Linked DNA regions of Homo sapiens: region 1 is linked to region 2. The links are contacts of gene promoters, found by promoter capture Hi-C in blood cells and fetal thymus (Javierre and others, 2016). All regions are on one chromosome and are shown on one strand. The core of a region is centred on a gene start or on the middle of the fragment in contact, and the rest is flanking DNA. Distances in the headings are between cores, read along the strand shown. Region 1 has its middle 4.4 kb from the start of PJA1. Region 2 holds the start of DLG3 (discs large MAGUK scaffold protein 3).

Region 1 (2,753 bases), core at 225-2,724, 1.3 Mb after region 2:
AGCTACTCAGGAGGCTGAGGTGGGAGGATTACTTGAGCCTGGGAGACAAGGCTGCAGTGAGCTGACATCGCACCACTGCAATCCAGTCTGAGTGACAGAGTGAGACCCTATCTCAAAAAAAAAAAAAAAAAAGGGCTGAACATCGTGGCTCACACCTGTAATCCCAGCACTTTGGGAGGCCAAGGTGGGTGGATCACCTGAGGTCAGGAGTTCAACACCAGCCTGGGCAACATGGTGAAACCCTGTCTCTACTAAAAAAATACAAAAATTACCCAGGTGTGGTGGGCGCCTGTAATCCCAGCTACTCAGGAGGCTGGAGAACCACTTGAACCTGGGAGGTGGAGTTTGCAGTGAGCTGAGATCGCACCACTGCACTCCAGCCTGGGTGACAGAGCAAGATTCCATCTCAAAAAAAAAAAAAAAAAAAAAACAGCAAGGGCATCAAATAGGGAATAGTTACAAGTATGGTAAATATTAATCCAACTATATCAATAATCACTTTAAATGTGAATGATCTAAATGCACCAATTAAAAGAGACTGTCAGAATGGATTTTAAAAACAAGATTTAACTATATGTTATCTACATGAAACCAACTTTCTAAAGACAAACTAAAAGTAAAGGGATTCAGAAATATATACCATACTAACAGTAATCAAAAGAAAGCCAGAGTAGCTATGTTAATTGCAGACACAGCAGATTTCAGAACAAAGAAAATTATTAGGGATAAATAGGGGTGTTATGTAATGAAAGAGGAGTCAGTTCTCCAAGAAGACACAACAATCTTTAATGTGTGTGTGCCTAACAACAGAGCATCAAAATACATGAGTCAAAAACTGATAGGACTTCAAGAAAAAATAGATGAATCCACAATTATAGTTGGAGACTTCAACACCACTCAATCAGTAATTGACAGATCCAGCAGGCAGAAAATCAGTAAAGATATAGTTGAACTGAATAGCACCATCAATCAACTGGATCTAATTGACATTTATAGACAACTTCATCCAACAAAAGCAGAATACACATTCTTTTCAAGCTCACATTGAACATTCACCAAGATTGACTACATCCTGGGCCATGAAACATGCCTCAACAAATTTAAAAGAATAGACATTATACAAAGTATGCTTTCAGACCACAATGAAATTGAATTAGGAATCAATAGAAGAATGGTAGCTGGAAAATCACATAATATTTGGGGATTAAACAATATACTTCTAAAGAAAACATGGGTTAGAGAAGAAGTGTCAAGATAAATTTTAAAATATTTTGAGATAAATTACCAAAATTTGTGGGATGCAGCAAAAGTGGTGCTTAGAGGGAAATTTGTAGCATTGAATGCATACATTAGAAAATAAGAAATACCTTAAATAAATCATCTAAGCTTCCATCTTAGGAAACTAGAAAATAAAACAGCAAATTCAGCCCAAAGTAAGCAGAAAAAAATGCAATAAAAATTAAAACAGGAATCAATGAAATTGAAAACAGAACAATAGTAGAGAAAAAGCAATACAATCAAAAGCTGGTTCTTTGAAAAGGTCAACAAGATTGAGAAGCTTGTAGCCAGACTGACCCAGAAAAAAAGAGAGTAAACAAAATTACTCATATCAGAAATTAGAGAGGAGCCATTGCTACTGACCTCATGGACATTAAAAGGATAATAAAAAGTATTATGAACAACTCTATGGCCACAAATTTGATTACTTAGATAAAATGAACAAATTCCATGGCTTGTTTTTAATGAATAGGATATGGCAAAAGTGATGAGATCTCACTTCTGAGATTAAGTTATAAAAAGACTGCATCTTTCCTCTTGGGATCTCTCTCTCTCTCTCTCTCTCTCTTTCTCTCTCTCCAGCTACCATGCTGTGAGGAGACTTAGGAAGCCTACGGATAGGTCCACACGACAAGGAATCAAAGTCTGACAACAGCCACATGAGTTAGCTTAGAAATGGGTCTTCTTTGGCCTGTCAACAACCATGTAAAAGAGCTTGGAAGTGGACCTCTTACCCTACTTGAGCCTTCAAATGAGACTGCAACCCTAGATGAGAGCTTGGGTGCAACCTCGTAAGAAAGTTTGAGTCAGAGGCACCTAACTAAGCCATGCCTGGATTCCAGACCCATAGAAACTGATATGATAAATGTTTGTTGTTTTTAGCTGCTATGTTTTAGGGAAATTTGTTACACAGCAATAGATACCTACTACATACTCTTTGACCAAGAAATTCTACTTCAATGTTTCCATACTAGAGCAATTTATTTCAATCCTTTTCACATCAGAACATATATTTAAAATGCTATCAGCTCACTGGAATAAACAGACAGTGTGCTCTTGGCCAGAGGCAACAGTCTCTAGGGGCAGCTGCTGAAGCCAAAGCTACCTTCCTGGAGAGCTAAGGGGATCAATATATCAGAACACTTATAACTCAGTTGGGAAGCTCTGCCCTGAAGAAACTCTTCTATGTAGGCACAAGGAGCCATGCACTAGGATGTTCATTGAATCCTCACTTATAATTGCACAAAACAGAAACAGTAGGAAAAGAGATAAATTGGATAACTTATGCAAAAGAAGTCCATACAATAATATGTTATAGTAATGTATTGGATAATTGATACAGTAATATTCAGCAGTTAAAATGCATGACTCAGATCTACAGGTATCAAAATTGCTGAGTTTCAAAAAACAACAGAGTGAAAATCTAAGTTGCAAAAGTATATATTTATAATGATACCATCTGTATAATTTAAATA
Region 2 (2,946 bases), core at 16-2,515:
AAAGGGACTGGGACGGAGAGGGACTCATGGCATCAAGGGATGAAGCTCAGCGAGCCGGGCACATGGGCTCCTCCACACGGATTCACGGCAGCTCCATTGCCTTCCTCCACACACCCCAACATACATACACACACATATGTCCCCCCTACGCAGAGCACCATGCCCCCTCCCCTCCCCTCCGGTGGAGACACACACCACACACAGCCCCCGCAGAACCTCCCGCCCCCTGCCAGACACAGAGACATTGCCAAACCCCCACACTGAGACAAACCCAATTCCCCCACACAGGAAAATGTGCCCCTCCGCCATGCCCTTACCCCCTGACACACGGCTCCTCCCAGTCTTCTAATGGAGACCCCCAAACAGACACACACAGGGAACCACACATTTCCCACCGCCTCTCTTTGCCCAGCTGCAATGCTAGGGCTCGGGGTCCACAGGCTTGGAGCCCCAGCGACCCCTACTGCATCCCAGGCCTCTAGGCCCCCACTCTCCAGCCCTCCTGGGTTGCCCCACCGCTCCCCCCTCCGCTGGTCCATACCTGCTCATACCAGTCCCGGTTGGTACAGGTGCACTCTGGCCACCAGCTGGGGCCGCTGCCGTTGAGTTTGGGGGTGCTCTTGCCCGGGACTGGCTTAGGAGGCACCGGCCCCACATCCCGGCCGGTGGGGATGAGCTTGGCCTTGGTGCGAGGGGTGGGGGTGGCCCCCGCCTGCGAGGGCAAGGTCTGCGAGCTGTAGCCCCCATAACCCGCGCTGGCGCCGTTGCCCCCACCTGGCCCGTAAGGGTCGGGGACTTGCCAGTCGCCGTAGCCCGGAGGCTCGAGGCGCCGCAGGGCGGCCAGGCGGGTCACCTCATAGCACTCAGGGCACTTACAGCAGTGCTGGTGCTTGTGCATGGCACTGCCCCCCGCGGCTCGGACCCCCCAGCCCACGCCGGATTCCACGCCGCCGCCACCGCCGCCACCACCGCCGCCGCCGCCGCCGGGCTCCCTGGCACACTCACACTGCTCGGACCAAGAAGGGGGGGGCACCCGTGGGGGCGCCCGGGCTGAGCGGGGCCTGGGGCCGGGCGGGCGTCCCGGGGCCTCGGCCCCCACGCTGCCCCGCACCCACGGCTCCCCCTCCAGCACTGGCGGCTCCGTGTCGCCCGTCGTGGCTTCTGGGCCGAGGCCCAGCGGCAAAGAAGAAGCGGGAGCTCAAGCAGAGAATGGGTGCTGTGAGGACCGCTTCTGCTCTGGTCCCCAGGATGGATCTGAGTGGAGTCAAGAGCATCTCTCCCTGGCTCCCTTCTCAGTTGATTCCAGCCAATCAGCGCGCAGAGGCAGGCAGCGGCAGCGGCAGCGGCGGCGGCAGGAATGCTAAACAGCGGCTACTTAAAGGAACAGAGGCAGCGGCGCCCCCAGGCTCAGCCCCAGCTCCCCCAATCTCTAGGGAACTGTTGGCTCTAAGGGCGGGGGCAGAGGACGTGGGCCACCAGAAAGCTCAGGCACCCGATCTTGTGCCCTTATATCGCCAGTTTTAGCCTGTCCTCTGCCCACTCCACCCCACCCCACTTCCAAGAGGGAGTTGCAGGGAGATGTTCAATGGGTCCCCAGGCTTGCTCTGAGCTGGGGCCACCAGAAGTAAAGACGAGGTAGCAGGATGGACAGAAAGGACGTTGGAGCAGGGTGAGGGAGGTGCTTTCTCTTACAGGGGACCAAAGAAGAAGGCAGCATATGAGGCCCGCTGTCCTGTCAATGCCTCCTACACAAGACTATTGTTCTCTCAGTCTCTAGGCCCTGAAATTACTGTGACCTCACACTTGACCTTCTACCATCACCAGTAAAGAACTCAACCCTAGAACAGGGATTAACAGAAAGCTCTAAGTCCTTGTCCCTGGCCCACAAACCCCTATCTCCTCCACTCCACCCCTGCATGGTTATGATGGGGGAAGGAACTTCAGGATATCAAGATGAAAGTCCAGGACAGGTGAAAAGGTAAGAAGGGATTTGAAGAGAGAGAAACCCTTCTATGGGTCTGGAATAGAGCTTAGGAATACTTGTCCAAGGACATCTCCTTACCCTCTCCTGGCTCAGCTTGTCGGGGGAATGGAGGAAGGATGACATACAAGAAAGACTATCTTTTTTGCAGTTCTTGTTTTGTTTTTAGCTACCAATTATTGGGTCTTTACAAAGTCCTAAGTGCATAACACGCAAACCCAAATCCTACCAAGCTGATGCTATTATTATCTTCATTTTACCAATGAGAAATTGAGGCTCAAAGATGTTAACACAGCTAGGTAACACAGCTGGAAGTGACAGAATCAGGATGCAAATCCTGATTATTTGACTCCAGAGTCCACGCTGTGAACCACTCTAGTACGACAGGTCTATTCTAAGTTCTCCTGCAGAATTTACATCTCAGTTCAATTCAGCAAATATTCATTGAGCACCTGCTCTGTGCAAGACCTTGACCTAGGTATTAGGGATACAGAGGTTCTTTTTTTTTTTTTTTTTTTTTTTTGAGATGGATTCTCATTCTGTCACCCAGGCTGGAGTGCAGTGGCGTGATCTCAGCTCACTGCAACCTCAGCTTCCCAGGTTCAAACGATTCTCCTGCCTCTCAGTCTCCCTAGTAGCTAGGACTACAGGCTCCTGCCACCACGCCCGGCTAATTTTTGTATTTTCTTAGTAGAGATGGGGTTTCATCACGTTGGCCAGGCTGGTCTCGAACTCCCGACGTCAAGTGATCCACCCACCTTGGCCTCCCAAAGTGCTGGGATTGCAGGTGTGATCCACTGTGCCCGGCCCTCAGAGATTCATTCTTAATTCAACAAATATGCGTGGAACACTTGCTGTGTGCCAGACACTGTTGTAGGATTTGGGGATATAGCAGGAAACAAAATAAAACAGAACAAACAGAACAAATCCCTGCCCTTGGGGAGCTTACCTCCTAGTGAGAGGAC

The links. Contacts are between HindIII fragments. The CHiCAGO score rates a contact against its expected background, and 5 or more counts as called.
Region 1: a contact is called between a fragment that was not itself captured here and the fragment with the promoter of DLG3 in region 2, in 1 of 17 cell types (naive B cells). The highest score is 5.2, in naive B cells.

The regions. Positions count from the first base shown.
Region 1 is chrX:69,168,440-69,171,192 of GRCh38, reverse strand. No RefSeq gene overlaps it. Among named protein-coding and RNA genes, the nearest start is that of PJA1, 4.4 kb to the right of the region's middle. The HindIII fragment of the contact is 172 bases long and covers 1,389-1,560 here.
Region 2 is chrX:70,443,154-70,446,099 of GRCh38, reverse strand. DLG3 (discs large MAGUK scaffold protein 3) reads right to left here and starts at 1,265. Exons shown (of 19, transcript NM_021120.4): 1 at 542-1,265. The coding sequence starts at 898. RefSeq lists an enhancer at 961-1,747. The HindIII fragment of the contact is 21,076 bases long and covers 1-2,946 here.